Regions from separate parts of the Homo sapiens genome. Here regions 2 and 3 are each linked to region 1. The links are contacts of gene promoters, found by promoter capture Hi-C in blood cells and fetal thymus (Javierre and others, 2016). All regions are on one chromosome and are shown on one strand. The core of a region is centred on a gene start or on the middle of the fragment in contact, and the rest is flanking DNA. Distances in the headings are between cores, read along the strand shown. Region 1 holds the start of TAL2 (TAL bHLH transcription factor 2). Region 2 holds the start of NIPSNAP3B (nipsnap homolog 3B). Region 3 overlaps ABCA1 (ATP binding cassette subfamily A member 1).

The links. Contacts are between HindIII fragments. The CHiCAGO score rates a contact against its expected background, and 5 or more counts as called.
Region 2: a fragment that was not itself captured here is called in contact with the fragment with the promoter of TAL2 in region 1 in 1 of 17 cell types (total B cells); the score reaches 5.3 in total B cells.
Region 3: a fragment that was not itself captured here is called in contact with the fragment with the promoter of TAL2 in region 1 in 1 of 17 cell types (total B cells); the score reaches 8.1 in total B cells.

What each region holds. Positions count from the first base shown.
Region 1 is chr9:105,659,468-105,664,569 of GRCh38, reverse strand. TAL2 (TAL bHLH transcription factor 2) reads right to left here and starts at 2,113. Exons shown (of 1, transcript NM_005421.3): 1 at 1,446-2,113. The coding sequence starts at 2,073. The coding sequence ends at 1,747. RefSeq lists an enhancer at 1,997-2,086. The HindIII fragment of the contact is 4,889 bases long and covers 183-5,071 here.
Region 2 is chr9:104,760,126-104,765,227 of GRCh38, reverse strand. It overlaps NIPSNAP3B (nipsnap homolog 3B), which reads right to left and starts at 1,099. Exons shown (of 6, transcript NM_018376.4): 1 at 928-1,099. The coding sequence starts at 987. RefSeq lists silencers at 784-973, 1,171-1,370. The HindIII fragment of the contact is 717 bases long and covers 2,625-3,341 here.
Region 3 is chr9:104,858,555-104,863,656 of GRCh38, reverse strand. ABCA1 (ATP binding cassette subfamily A member 1) reads left to right here. Exons shown (of 50, transcript NM_005502.4): 6 at 1,857-1,978; 7 at 4,959-5,102. Among named protein-coding and RNA genes, the nearest start is that of ABCA1, 67 kb to the left of the region's middle. The HindIII fragment of the contact is 1,308 bases long and covers 1,867-3,174 here.

The sequences.
Region 1 (5,102 bases), core at 864-3,363:
ACTTTGGGGAAGGAAAATGTCCCAGAGATAATCAAATAACATTATTTGTATTCCAGGTTCAACTATAGGATTTATCTTTGACTCCAAGTATCATCAGGGTGGCATATGGTGATGGATTCTGCCAGATCCGTGCTATTTCACTGACTTGTTGGGTACCAGGCCTCCAAGCCTAAGACTAAGCTTGATCACCCTTGATCAAATACATCTCATTTTTCAAAACCAACTTTAAAATCTGTTCTGAGGGAAGCATATGCTACTCATTCATCTGAGATCTATTATGAGAAACTTTTTTCTTTTTGAGAAGGCTAATGTGCCATAGCAAAGAAGACAAATTACAAATTCATTAGTTCATTAGCGTCTGGTATTACATTTCTATTGTTTACTCTAAATGTTTTGTTTAAACTAAGCTCTCTGTTAAATGAGTCATTAAATGGTAATGTTTGGATTTTCATAATTATAATTGAATTTTACAGGTCTTGAATCAGCAGGAGTTCAGGCTGAGTGAAACGTTTTAATGCATGACATGTGAAGTGAAGGCTTTAGCTAACTTATTTCAGCTAACTGTTTTTCGTAAGAAAACTACGAGCCCTAACACATAAATTATCCAGTTGTTTCGTCTCACAGATATAATCCACTATTTGCCTTTAGAAGTCACATATGTACAAATGGCTCAGCACAAGTAGCACCTCACACTTCTACAGAGTTGAAAGGACACAGAACTGTTCCACATATCTCTGCTGCATTCCTGTAATCCCCACACCTTAGTGGGCGGGGGGCGGGGGGTGTCTTTTCTCCACAGATTTTTCCCGCAAGTCTCCCAGGTTGGTTTCTGCAGGGGTTATCTTTCTATTCATCAATCTTAAGATTTATTTTGTTCACCTTTGATCAAATGCATCTCATTTTTCAAAACCATCTTTAAAATCTGTTCTGAGGGAAGCATATGCTGCTACTCATTCATCTGAGATCCATTATGAGAAAACTTTTTTTGTTATTGTTGTTTTTGAGAGCGAGTCTTGCTCCGTTGCCCAGGCTGGAGTGCAGTGGCATGATCTTGGGTCACTGCAACCTCCCCCTCCCGGGTTCAAGCGATTCTCGTGCCTCAGCCTCCTGAGTATCTGGGATTACAGGTGCGCACTACCACACCTGGCTCATTTTTGTATTTGTAGTAGAGACGGAGTTTCACCATGTTGGCCAGGCTGGTCTCAAACTCCTGACCTCAGGTGATCTGCCCATCTCAGCCTCCCAAAGTGCTGGGATTACAGGCGTGAGCCACCGTGCCCGGCCCATCAATCTTAAGATTTATTTTGTTCACCCTTGATCAAATCTCATTTTTCAAAACAAACTTTAAAATATGTTCTGAAGGAAGCATATTCTACTTATTCATCTGAGATCCATTATGAGAAAACTTCTTTCTTATAACTGAAGACATTGAGTATAAACAGTGATTTTCAGCCTTTTTTTTTTTTTATTTAGAATTTTTTCTCCAAAAGTCTTATGCAGAACCTGGATTTAAAATAGGCAGAGGTAGGCCGCTCTACCTGACATCCCTGGGGGGTGGCGGCCCACAAGTGACATTCCTCATGGCTTCTTTCAGCTCCCTGCAGCTGTCTCTGAGCCACCTCCCAGGAAGCTAGAATTCATGCTTCACGAGTTATCATCAGGTCAACTCTGGAACATGCAAAAGTCTGTCCACAGGCAGTGATTTCTGGGCAAGTGCTGCCCTGGGAGATGACAGCCAGAGCCACACTAAGGAATGTGGTGGCTTGGACCAGGTGAAGGAACCTGGTAGTTCTCAAGCAGAGTTCTGTCCTCCAGGCCTGGCAGGTGGGGTCCTTGAGGGAAGAGCCCCAGAATGTTCCCCTGAGCAGCCACTCCCGTTTGTTGCAGGCTTTGCTCCCCCAAGACCTTGACCAAGAAGTTGATATACCTCATTGCCAGGCGAAGCGTTTCATTTTTGCTCAGCTTTTTGTCTGGAGGGTGAGTGGGGATGAGCTTCCTCAGCTTGGCAAAGGCGCTGTTGACATTCTGCTGCCTCCACCGCTCCCTGGTATTTGTGAAGATCTTCCTGGTCATGTTTGAGTTCCTGAGATGGAAAGAGAAAGGGCCCTCAGGGCCAATATCTTATAAGAGGCCTGATTGGTATCACATGTCCTGCCAAGAACCTGAGATGTTAGATTTTCTCGACTCAGAGCTTACGAGATTCATTTCCTCATTTTCAGGTTTTTAAAAAAGAAAACAACCCCACAGGGACACAAACATATGCCTCTCACCTTTCGAGGCATCAGTGACGCTATGAATTATGCATAATTTCTTTTTTTAACTTAAAAACAACAGGGGAAGGTAAGAACAACACCCTTCAGCTTTTTCTCTCTGGCTGTTTTGAAGCCTCCAGTTGAAAGATTGCTTTGTCCCAATACTCCTGTTTCTTCCTTTATAACCAACTCTTCCTAATTGTTCAGAATCAGGTACAATATTGATTGAGTTTATGTATAAATGCAACATATGTTTGGCCAATAGAAAGTTTGTTTTTTGTTTTTTGTTTTTTTCTTTTTTTGAGATGGAGTCTCACTCTGTCACCCAGACTGGAGTGCCATGGCACCATCTCAGCTCACTGCAACCTCCAGCTCCCGGGTTTGAGCGATTCTCCTGCCTCAGTCTCCGGAGTAGCTGGGACTATAGGCGCCTGCCACCACGCCTGGCTAGTTTTTATATTTTTAGTAGAGATGGGGTTTCACCATGTTGGCCAGCCTGGTCTTAAACTCCTGATCTCAGGTGATCCACCCGCCTCGGCCTCCCAAAGTGCTGGGATTGCAAGCGTGAGTCACGATGCCCGGCCACCAACAGAGAGTTGAATATGAATCAACAATGTATTATCAGAATGAAGTAAAAAAAGAAAATGATTGTAGGTTTCGTTAATAAAATAAAATTTGGAATAGAGAAGACAATACAGCTCTCTTGTTAGCTGGCAGACCTCACCTGGAGGATTCAGCCCCTCTCTGTAAGAACTAAAATATCCAGACTGGACTATATTTAGAGGAGCAGGAACAGAATGATGAAGGGTCTTGAAACCCTGGTGTATGAAGAACAGAAGTGGGGGTATTTAGTCTCGCAAAAATGAAAAGACAAGGGGCAGGTGGGAGTGGTGATTTGGCGTGGATTCTGTAGAAGATACTTGGGCCTCTTTGGGGCTGCATTGGATGACCTTTCCAAGTCTAGGAGAGTGGTTTATCATCACATACTGCCGAGCATTATGCAGGCATTTTTCACTCTTAGAGGCAAGAGTCCCTTTTTTCAAGTGGCTTGGATTAACATGTGCTAATAGGAACACTTGGGAGGCACTGGCAAACAAGCCCAAGTCTAGCCCCAGGCAGTTTGATGTTCTTGGCTTACTGCTATTGGTCTGCTGCCTGCTCCACGCTCAGCTCCTCTGGGCACTGGGCCCTTTCTAGTTCCTCCGAAGACTCATGAATATTCCCAACTCTACACTTTCGCACATTGTCATTTTCTGTTCCTTGAATTTCCTCCCCACTCTCTACTTACCTATTTCTTTAAACAGCAGGTGAGATCTTCCCTTTCCAAGCCCTGACTCTACAGGAGTCTTCACGTAACTCAGCCATCAGTGGAACCATATGCATGGTGGTCAAGAGCACAGGCTCCAAGGCCAGAACCCCGGTTTGGCTGTTGGTTATACTCACCCTAGCTGTGTGACGAGCAATCTACTTAACCTCTCTGTGTTTCAAATGCCTCATAAGTAAAGATCAGTACAGGAGTACTGCATCATTGTGAGGACACATGAAATGATACACATAAAGCACCTTAGCTCAGTGTCTAGTGCATATTAAAGGCTCAATAAATATTTAATGATTGGCGGGACTCAGTGGCTCACACCCGTAATCCCAGCGCTTTGGGAGGCCAAGTCGGGGGGGGGGGGGGTGGCAGATCACCTGAGGTCAGGAGTTCACGACCAGCCTGGCCAACACGGTGAAATTCCATCTCTACTAAAAATGCAAAAATTAGCAGGGCGTGGTGGCGCACGCCTGTAGTCAGAGCCAATCAGGAGGTTGAGACAGAAGAATCACTTGAACCCAGGAGGTGGAGGTTGCAGTGAGTCGAGATCGCGTCATTGCACTCCAGCCTGGGCGACAGAGCGAGACTGTCTCAAAAAAAAAAAGAAAATTAATGATTGCAATTATTATCTTTAAAAATAAAACAGTGAAAAATAAATGTTGTAATTTATCATTTTCTTCCTAATGAAGAAGTTATATGCATTAGAGAAGGTCTTAGCTTTGTTTATGTGCTCTTTTGATTCACTTTACAGGAATATATGGGTGTGTGTGTGTGTGTGTGTGTGTGTGTGTGTGTGTGTGTGTGTGTAGAGCAAAAACCTGGAAGGATTCAGGCCAAACTGTCAACAGTGGTTCATTGGGAGAGGACAGTAGATTGGGAGAAGAGAAAAAAAGGAGACTTGTGGTGTTTTATTCTTTTTTTGGTATTGTTTTATGTGTACATATATAAAATCTTTTTTTTTTTTTTTTTTGAGACAGAGTTTCGCTCTGTCGCCAGGCTGGAGTGCAGTGGCACGATCTCAGCTCGCTGCAACCTCTGCCTCCTGGGTTCAAGTGATTCTCCTGCCTCAGCCTCCCTAGTAGCTGGGACTATAGGCACACGCCACTGGGCCCAGCTAATTTTTTTGTATTTTTAGTAGAGAAGGGTTTTCACCATGTTGGCCAGGATGGTTTCAATCTCCTGACCTCATGATCTGCCCGCCTCAGTCTCCCAAAGGGCTGGGATTACAGGCGAACCACTGCACCAACTGCATTTTTCAATCATCTCTATGCCCCCCGGGACATTTCCCCATCCTAGTTCCTTTCTTGTTGCCTTTCCTGCTTGTGTCTGGGTTGGGGAGTCCAGTGCTGTGCTAAGAATTCATGGTGAACTGGAAGCACCGCAGCCCGAGGTCACCACATGGCTTCCGGCTCCCCGCACTGTCCTCTTGCACCCACATCCTCTCTCCGTGGAGACATTCCTAGTTGGACCCATGGACCAATTACAATACTATGCACTCCAAGCTTTGGGACCAACATTTACTGACACTACGAGCC
Region 2 (5,102 bases), core at 1,734-4,233, 900 kb after region 1:
TGTGCATAACGTCTTAATTATAATTGTCTATCTTGAGTTCATTCATCTCCAGTATGAGTTATGCCCTTATTGCCCAAGTGTCTTAGTTTTCTTAGAAAACCCTTCTTCATACCAAAAAATACCTGCAACTATCCTTTCTTTTGATGGCCATTCTTTTTGGGTCAGTTTAATCAAATTCTGAAAATAAAAAACTGCTTAGTATCTACAGTTTAAAAATATTATTATCTCGGAAAATGGGCCAATGAGGTATTTCTAATAACTGCTTTTAAAGTTGATTTTCGGAGATTTGTATCTGGAGATGTTATCCTAAAAAAACGCAACAGCTGGCGCCACGGGGGTGTCCCGGGAGTTGTGGCATTTAGGCTAGAAACAGCTGGCATCAGGCTGGGCACAGTGGCTCATGCCTGCAATCCAGCACTTTGGGAGGCCAAGGTGGGCGGATCACGAGGTCAGGAGTTCGAGACCAGCCTGACCAACATGGTGAAACCCCCGACTCTACTAAATAGTAAACACAAAAAAAATTAGCCGGGCGTGGTGGCTGGCGCCTGTAATTCCACCTACTCCGGAGGATGAGGCAGGAGAATCGCTTGAACCCGGGAGGCGGAGGTTGCACTGAGCCGAGACTACGCCACTGCACTCCAGCCTGGGCGACAGAGCGAGACTCCGTCTCAAAAACAAAAACAAAAATCACAAAAACACTGGCATCCAGTTAGAAAACCCCTCTGACAGCGACTGCCAGCGAGACGACCCCGGCCTGTAGCCTCCTCCTTGCGCGCCAGACGGCTCCAGAGACCGCGTTAGAACTTCGGCGGCGGCGCGGGGCCCCAGGTCTGGGAGCGCCTGAGCGTGGCTCGCACGCTTCAGAAATACCCCCCGCCCCTCCCCTCCCCTCCGGCCAGGGCTCGGGCGCGCCCCCGCGGCCAGTACCTGAGGCGCGAGCGTCCGTGAGGCAAGCGCCTTGGTCAGGCCGCTTCTGAGAACGAGCATGGCGCGGCTTCGGCACTGAGAAAAGCAGCCAGCCGAGTCCTTTGTGAGACTTCTCTGAAGTCTTCCCGAGTGGAAAAAAGCGGCTCCTGGACCACTGGCGAACTCAGGCAGGGGCGGGACTCGGCGGGGTCAGCTCCACCCCGGCGCGGGAGGCGCGACAGGTCCCGCAGTTGGCGTCTTTCTCTTCGGCGCTGAGCCTCGGTCCCCCTTGGTTTCCTGAAACGTTCTTGCCCCAGACGTTAGAGGTGACAGAATTAGCTGAAGGCTGGGATCGTTCCTGCCCCACCTTTCTGGGCCCTGACCTCATTCGCTCCGATGCGCAGTTGTGTAGATTCGTAAATGTGCGGCGGTTGTGCTTGTGTTGCCCCTGGAGAAGGAAGGGGAGGTGTTCAGCGTGTGCATGTGCAGTGCTTTGCATTTAAAGTCGAGATGTTGACAGGGTTAACTTGTTTCTTTGTTTGAGACGTAGTCTTGCTCTGTCGCCCAGGCTGGAGTGCACTGGCGCGATGTCGCCTCACTGCAAGCTCCGCCTCCCGGGTTCACGCCATTCTCCTGCTTCAGCCTCCCCAGTAGCTGGGACTACAGGCGCCCGCCACCACGCCCCGCTAATTTTTGTATTTTTTAGTAGAGACGGAGTTTCACCATATTGGCCAGGCTGGGACAGGGTTAACTTTTACAGGTTGTGATAGACGTGTATTTGTAGACCAGTGAGCCTTCGCTTTTCTGCATTATCTGTCCCCATTGCCACCCCACTGTGATCTTGGAAGGCTCCTAATAAAGATTTAATTTTCCATGAGCTCAGTGGAATAGCAGCACCGAGCCTGATAGGAAAAAGTCGAAGTTAAACATAGATAGTTTGAAACTAGATCGTTCTGTAAGCCTTAAGAGCAAAACAGCCGACCTCTGGTCTAGTCCTCCCAGTCCCAGAGTACTGGTCCCCAGACTAACCACCTTCAACATTTTAAGCTGTTCTTCTAATACCTGTTTCCGTATGTTTTTTATTTTTTTGAGACAGAGTCTTGCTCTGTCGCTCAGGCTGGGGTGCAGTGGCATGATCTTGGCTCACTGCAACCTCCGCCTCCCGGTTTCAAGAGATTCTCCTGCCTCAGCCTCCTGAGTAGCTGGAATTACAGGCGCACGCCACGACACCTGGCTAATTTTTCTATTTTTAGTAGAGACGGCGTTTCACCATGTTGGGCAGGCTGGTCTTGAACTCCTGACCTCAGGTGATCCTCTCGGCTCAGCCTCCCTAAGTGCTGGGATTACAGGCACGAGCCACTGCGCCTGGCCCGTATTTTTAAATAATAGTCATTTTCTGCTATTTCTTGCATTTTCAGTTATGGAGAGTATGTGTTGCCTTCCTTCTGTGGCAGATGAGGATTTAGGTCTCACAGAAGCCACTCCCCCGGGGGCTTATCATTTGTGTTGAGAACATTCAATATCCTCCTAGCAATTTGAAACTATATATTATTAACTATAGTTATCCTGAAGTGGTATAGAGCACTAGAACTTATTCCTCCTATCTAGCTATAATTTTGTTTAACAAATCTCTCCCATCCTTGTCTTCCTCCTAATCTTTCCCATCCTCTAGAATCCTGTTATACTTTTTATTTCTGAAATCAACTTTTTTTAAAGCTTATACATTAATGAGAACATGTGGTGTGCAACTTTCTCTTGTTGGCATATTTCACTTAACATAATATCCACCAGTTCCAGCCATGTTGCTGTGAAGGACAGGATTTCATTCCTTTTTACTGCTGAATAGTATTCCATTGTGTATATATAACATACTTTCTTTATCCATTAATCTTGCTGGACACCTAGGCTGATTCTGTATCTTGGCTATTGTGAACAGTGCTGCAATAAACATGGGGGAGGGAAGATGTCTTTCTGATATACTGATTTCTTTTCCTTTGGATAATGCTCAGTAGTGGGTTATTTGTAGTTTCTTGAGGAAACTCCATAGTGTTCTCCATAGTAGTTCTAAGAGTTTACATTCCCAACAGTGTATACGATTTTCCTTTTCTCTGCATCCTCATCAGCTTTGTTTTTTGACTTTTTGATAATAGCCTAACTGGGGTGAGATAATACCTCACTTCCCTGATGATGAGTGATGTTGAACATTTTTCATGTATTTGTGAGCTATTTGTATGTCTCCTTTGGAGAAATGTCTGTTCAGATCATTTGCCCATTCTTAAATTGATTTGTTTGGTTTTTATTGCTGGTGAGATGTTTGAGTTTCTTGTATATTCTGGATATGAATCCCTGTCAGATGAATAGTTTGCAATTATTTTTTCCCATTCTATAGGTGGTTTTTTCACTCTGTTGATTTTTTCATTTGCTGTGCAGAAGCTTTTTAGTTTGACATAATCTATTTTTGCTTTTGTTGTCTGTGCTTTTGAAATCTTATTCATAAAACTTTTTCCCAGACAATGTCCGGAAGCATTTCCCTTATATTTTCTTCTAGTACTTTTAGTTTCAGGTCTTACACTTAGCTCTTTGACCCATTGAACTGAATTTTTGTATAGAGTGAGAGGTGGGGGTCTAGTTTCACTCTTCTGCATATTGATATCCAGTTTTCCTGGCACTATTTATTGAAGAGACTGTCTTTTCCCCAGTGTATGTTCTTGGCACCTTTGTCAAAAACCAGTTGGCTGTAGATGTATGGATTAATTTCTGGGTTATATATTCTGTTCCATTGGTCTGTTTCTGTTTCTATCCCAGTACCATGTTGTTTTGGTTACTATAGCTTATAGTATATTTTGAAGGCTGGTAGTGTGATGCCTCTAGCTTTGTTCTTTTTGCTTAGGACTGCTAAAAGCAAATTCTTGATAAAGAAATAGACCTATTCTTTATAAGATATTAAATAACAATATCTAATGGTAGGTGTAAGAGGTATAATAATTTTGAAGTAGTGATGAAGGTAAAATAAATTTTCTGTATTTGCAACAACTATAAATAGAATTTGACAGTATCTGTGATTTTTACTGACTAAAAAGTTGCAGGTCCTGCTAATAATATTGTGGTTTGTTGCCTACCTTCACAAACAAAGGAAATGCTTAGAAGTTGGTGCCAATAAAGATGGAACTTTTACCTATCCAAGTTATCAGACTCTGAATTCTATCCTTCAGGATTTGTGTACTAGAGGTTACAAACCACTACTCTAGAGTATATAATTAGGAATGGAATTGCTGGGTCATAAGTTATGTATATATTCATCTTTATTAAATCGTGCCAAACTGTTCTATAAATGTATATTCTTAATAGCAGTGTATGAGGTTTTCCTGACCAATTTCTTATTATTGCCCATCTGATCTGATGAGTGTGAAGATGCATTTTTACACCTCTCATAACAAATAAGTATTAGCTGAAGGATGGTGGGAATTACAAGAAGTGGGCAAAGGGAACAATCTACTTGATGATGTTCTTGCATGTTTTTTTTTTTTTTTAAAGGTCAGGCTCATGCAAAAGCAGGAGAGGTGTATCCAGTGCTGGCCCAACTGGGTAGGAGGACAGCAGTTGTACATGTAAACTCTAGATGCTTAAATTTCCTGAGTGAAAACTTTCCAAATAAACATTGAGATGGAAGACTCTTAGACAAAACTCAGAGCCAATGCCTCTAACTTCCGTGATAAGTTTTTACCTCCAGTGTTGGGTCTTCTTTGCCTTAGTAGGAAACTCATCTGTCCTTTGAATCCCTGGGAGCTAGATAAATGAGGGGTTACTATACTTTCTGCTTTTCCAATTTCCCTCAGATGGCTAATTCATAATTTACTATCTTTGCTATATGTAATAGCAGTGTAAAATAAAAATATAAAATAACATAGAAATGTAAAAATAACATAGCTGTAAATATAGATTTCATAGTCTTGGAAGTACCAAATCTACTTTAATAGGAAGCACTCAATTAAAAATTAAAGTTGTTTGTAGGAAAACACTACCACATCTGTGACAGTACTAAAGAAACTCTGATTCTGGGGTTAGTGGGATACAATTTTCTTGAGGTAACTTAATATTTACAGTAAAGACGGTAAATTGGTATTGTCTCATTACCTTATAGCAATACAGCAATAGCTTCAGAAAAGATAAATATATAAAACTCAACAAAAAGAACC
Region 3 (5,102 bases), core at 1,271-3,770, 800 kb after region 1:
CTGTCTATATAACTCAATATTACTGAAGTTTGCCTAAAGCAGAATACACCTGGATCATACAGCATTTATGAGAGACTGGCTGGGCTGTCAGGCCCTCCTGTTACTTTATCTCTGCATGTGACCCTCTTAGCTCCGCGGATTAACTCCTGTCCTCATTAAGCCTCACACTGTAGCCCCATTTTCAGATCAAACCTGTTTCTCTTCTGGTAAATGATTTCAGTTTGCAAAGTTTGCCCTCTAGAGGTTGCTTAGTGCCTGGCCATGTGGGCTCAGTTCATGTGGTCCTGATGAGCTGGTTTTATCTTTATTACAAAGAAGTTAGGCTGTTAGGAGAGTGGGTTGGAAGGAGAAGAGGTAGACAGCCAAATGAGATGAGTCAGGGAAAACTATACTGTTTCGGAGTCATAGGGCTCCTACCAAGCATCTGGTCAGAAACCTCTCATTTTGGAGATCAAGAAATTGAGGTTCAGAAAGATGACATGAGGTACGCAGGGACGCCACCAGACACAGCCTCCAACTCTAGAAACTAAAATTCTGGATTCTTAGTGCTGCTTTTTCTGTTTTGTTGCACTGGATTGAAGCCTTTTCTAACTGTACTCAGAGGGCCTATTATTTAGGGAGATTCCGTATGAAATCCTTTAGCAATCAAATCATTTAATAGGGCTGATGGTTTAAATATATGTTAATGTGTTTTCCTAAAGCCTGGCAGACCTGGGTTTTGGAGCTTTGTATCACATGTTTTATGTTTGGAATGAAAATGAGACCATGTCTGTGAAGGCACTTTGATATGCGTAATGCACTCTGCCAGTGTTTGTCAAAACATGGTCCCCAGGTCAGCAGCATCAGCATCACCTGTAAGTGATTCTCCAGTCGCATCCCAGGGCCGCTGTATCAGAAACTCTGGGGGTGGGGGTGGGGGTGGGGGTGGGGGTGGGGGTGGGGGTGGGGGTGGGGGCCGGCCCGGCCCGGCCCGGCCCGGCCCGGCCCGGCCCGGCCCGGCCCGGCCCGGCCCGGCCCGGCCCGGCAGTCTGCATTTTAACAAGCTCTCCAGGTGATTCTGATGCATACTTAAGTTTGAGAACCATTGCTTGTTTTGCATTAAACAGGAGATTAGTCTCTGCAGCTTGTGGGAATAAAGCTTTAAATCTCTCCAATTTTAGCTCTGTGAAAAGGCAGTGGGGAGACAGGAATGAACGGACTAGTGCCACAAAGCTCAGGTGGGGTGGGTGAGATCATTTAGAAGAGAAAGACCGGGCATGGTGGCTCACGCCTGTACTGTCAGCACTTTGGGAGGCCAAGGCAGGTTGGATCACAAGGTCAGGAGTTTGAGACCAGCCTGCCTATCATGGTGAAACCCTGTCTGTACTAAAGATAAAAAAAAAAAAATTTGCCAGTCATGGTGATGCATACCTGTAATCCCAGCTACTCGGGAGGCTGAGGCAGGAGAATCTCTTGAACCCGGGAGGCGGGGGTTGCAGTGAGCTGAGATTCCACCATTGCACTCCAACCTAGGTGACAGGGTGAGACTCCGTCTCAAAATAAAAAAAAAAAAAGAAAAGGAAAGGCTGTGTGTGTGTGTATGTGTGTGTGTGTGTGTGTGTGTGTGTAACAGCACCATCACACTGTTTGAGTTGAGGAGCACATGCTGAGTGTGGCTCAACATGTTACCAGAAAGCAATATTTTCATGCCTCTCCTGATATGGCGATGCTCCCCTATCTCATTCCTGTGTGTGTTTAGCCAGGCAACTGTTGATCATCAATATTATGATAACGTTTCTCCACTGTCCCATTGTGCCCACTTTTTTTTTTTTTTTGAGTTACTTACTAAATAAAAATAAAACACTATTTCTCAATAGACTTGAAGCTTCAAGATTTCCTGGTGGACAATGAAACCTTCTCTGGGTTCCTGTATCACAACCTCTCTCTCCCAAAGTCTACTGTGGACAAGATGCTGAGGGCTGATGTCATTCTCCACAAGGTAAGCTGATGCCTCCAGCTTCCTCAGTAGGGCTGATGGCAATTACGTTGTGCAGCTACTGGAAAGAAATGAATAAACCCTTGTCCTTGTAATGGTGGTGAAGGGGAGGGAGGTAGTTTGAATACAACTTCACTTAATTTTACTTCCCTATTCAGGCAGGAATTGCCAAACCATCCAGGAGTGGAATATGCAACCTGGCGTCATGGGCCAGCTGGTTAAAATAAAATTGATTTCTGGCTTATCACTTGGCATTTGTGATGATTTCCTCCTACAAGGGATACATTTTAAGTTGAGTTAAACTTAAAAAATATTCACAGTTCTGAGGCAATAACCGTGGTTAAGGGTTATTGATCTGGAGGAGCTCTGTCTAAAAAATTGAGGACAGGAGACTTTAGACAAGGGTGTATTTGGAGACTTTTAAGAATTTTATAAAATAAGGGCTGGACGCAGTGGCACTGAGTTGAGAACTGTTGCTTGCTTTGCATTAAATAGGAGATCAGTCCCTGCAGCTTGTGGGAATAAGGCTTTAAATCTCTCCAATTTTAGCTCTGTGAGATGGCACTGGGGAAACAGAAATGAACGGACTAGTGTCACAAAGCTCAGGTGGGATGGACGAGATCACTTCAAAGGTCTGTAATCCCACGTCTATAATCCCAGCACTTTGGGAGGCCAAGGCGGGAAAATCACTTGAGGTCAGGAGTTCGAGACCATCCTGGCCAACATGGCAAAGCCTGTCTCTACTAAAAATATGAAAATTAGCTCAGCGTGGTGGCATGCTCCTGTAGTCCCAGCTACTCGTGAGGCTGAGACAGGAGAATCGTTTGAACCTGGGAGGCGGAGGTTGCAGTGAGCCAATATCACGCCATTGCACTCCAGCCTGGCTGACAGAGTGAGACTCCATCTCAAAAAAAAAAAAAAAAAAAGAATTTTATAAAATCAGGAAATAATATTAGTGTTTATGTTGAATTTTAACTTTAGAATCATAGAAAACTTCCTCTGGCATCATTATTAGACAGCTCTTGTGCAGTGGGTAGCACCAGACCCAGCTTGCATGGTTATTGATTTTTCAGAGACACTTTTTGAGCTTATTCTCTGGCAGAAAGGGGAACTGCTTCCTCCCCTATCTCGTGTCTGCATACTAGCTTGTCTTTACAAGAAGCAGAAGTAGTGGAAATGTTTATTCTTGAAAATAAGCTTTTTGCTTCACATGATCTAGAATTTTTAAAATTAGAAAAATGTGCTTACTGCGTGCCCTTCTGAAACTAGGAAAATATGCCTTGTGTTTACCAATTGTGTGGTTAGGAGATGGGCCAAAGGCATCAGGCTTTTGAAAGTAGTTGCATTTAGCATAATTTCCATTGCCCCCTGCCAATTTCATATCTGTCACATCTAATCAGTTTAAAATAAGGGGCATCCTAAGCATGGAGATGGTCCTTGGATGGTCCTTGGAGTTTCTGTATTTTCAGTATTCTTTTTTTTGAGCATACAAGACATTTATTGAAAAATTCTTGGGATCAATACTTGTGTAAGGAAAGGAAAGGGAACAAAGCATGATTGGGCAGAGGCAGAAGATGACATCAACAAAGGCCCTCCGTTGTCAGTATTCTTTTTTTTTTTTTTTTTTTGAGTTGGAGTCTCGCTCTGTCACCCAGGCTGGAGTGCAGTGGCGTGATCTCAGCTCACTACAACCTCTGCCTCCCAGGTTCAAGTGATTCTCTGCTTCAGCCTCCTGAGTAGCTGGGATTACAGGCATGCACCACCACACCTGGCTAATTGTTGTATTTTTAGTAGAGACGGGGTTTCACCATGTTGGTTGGCCAGACTGGTCTTGAACTCCTGACCTCAGGTGATCCGTCTGCCTTGGCCTCCCAAAGTGTTGGAATTACAGACATGACCCACTGCACCCGGCCTGTTGTCAGTATTCTTAAACATAGACACTAACTGTAGGCTGACAGCCTAGCAGCAAGGACCAGTTAAAGAAATGAGTAGAACTGAAGTGTGCTTGAGTATCTCTGGCAGTCAGCAAAAACTTAATGGGAATCATGGTAGGCCAAATGTTCTGCAGTATTTCAAAAGCTGCATGGGTTTTGAGAGGCTTTTGGTCCATCACTCACCTTAGGTTGTTCTACAAGCACATCAGCCTGCCCCAATTTAAACAGGGCAGTTAGTAATGGTGTAATAAAGAGTCTGCATTGTTCATTCCTTCAACAAATACTGGCTATAATGTTTCAGCACTGTGGATGCAAAGTGAGCAGGATAAACAGGCTCTTCTTTCAAAGCTTGTGGTCCACTGGACCACGTATGAAGTAGAATAGTTTAGGTCCAGAAAGGCAATTAAGTAAAATATGACCAAGAAGAGGCTCTCTAGTGGGTTTGGTATAAAGAAAAGATAAGAATGATTTAGAATTGGCCTATCAATGAGATAAGAGGCCTGGCTTTCTGGCACTCTGCTCTAGGGCAAGTAAAATGGAGAATTCCAAATTCTGAAATTGTTAGAACATAGTTCTGTGTCTTAGTTAAATATCTACACTTACAGATAAATAGCATAAATGCTTTCTCCCCATATTTCAGCCCAGTCCTACTTAAAGACAACATAAATTGCAAAATAGTGAGGATGTTGTTCATCTAATAAAAGTGGTTCCAGGAATTCAGACTCTGGATTCCTGTTTGCCAAATCATGTGTCCCACTCTTAAGAAAACGAGTTGGACTCTGGATTTTTCTTTGCAAGAGGGACAAGAGTGTGGGAGATACTGAGTTAATGCAACTTGCAGGTTTTAAGTGTCCTGTCATTGTGCCTTGTGCTTTGATACATTCTGAGTTTCAGTAAAGAGACCTGATGCATTGGACTGTTGCAATGGAACCTGTTTTAAGATCTTCAAAGCTGTATTGATATGAAGTTCTCCAAAAGACTTCAAGGACCCAGCTTCCAATCTTCATAATCCTCTTGTGCTTGTCTCTCTTTGCATGAAATGCTTCCAGGTATTTTTGCAAGGCTACCAGTTACATTTGACAAGTCTGTGCAATGGATCAAAATCAGAAGAGATGATTCAACTTGGTGACCAAGAAGTTTCTGAGCTTTGTGGCCTACCAAGGGAGAAACTGGCTGCAGCAGAGCGAGTACTT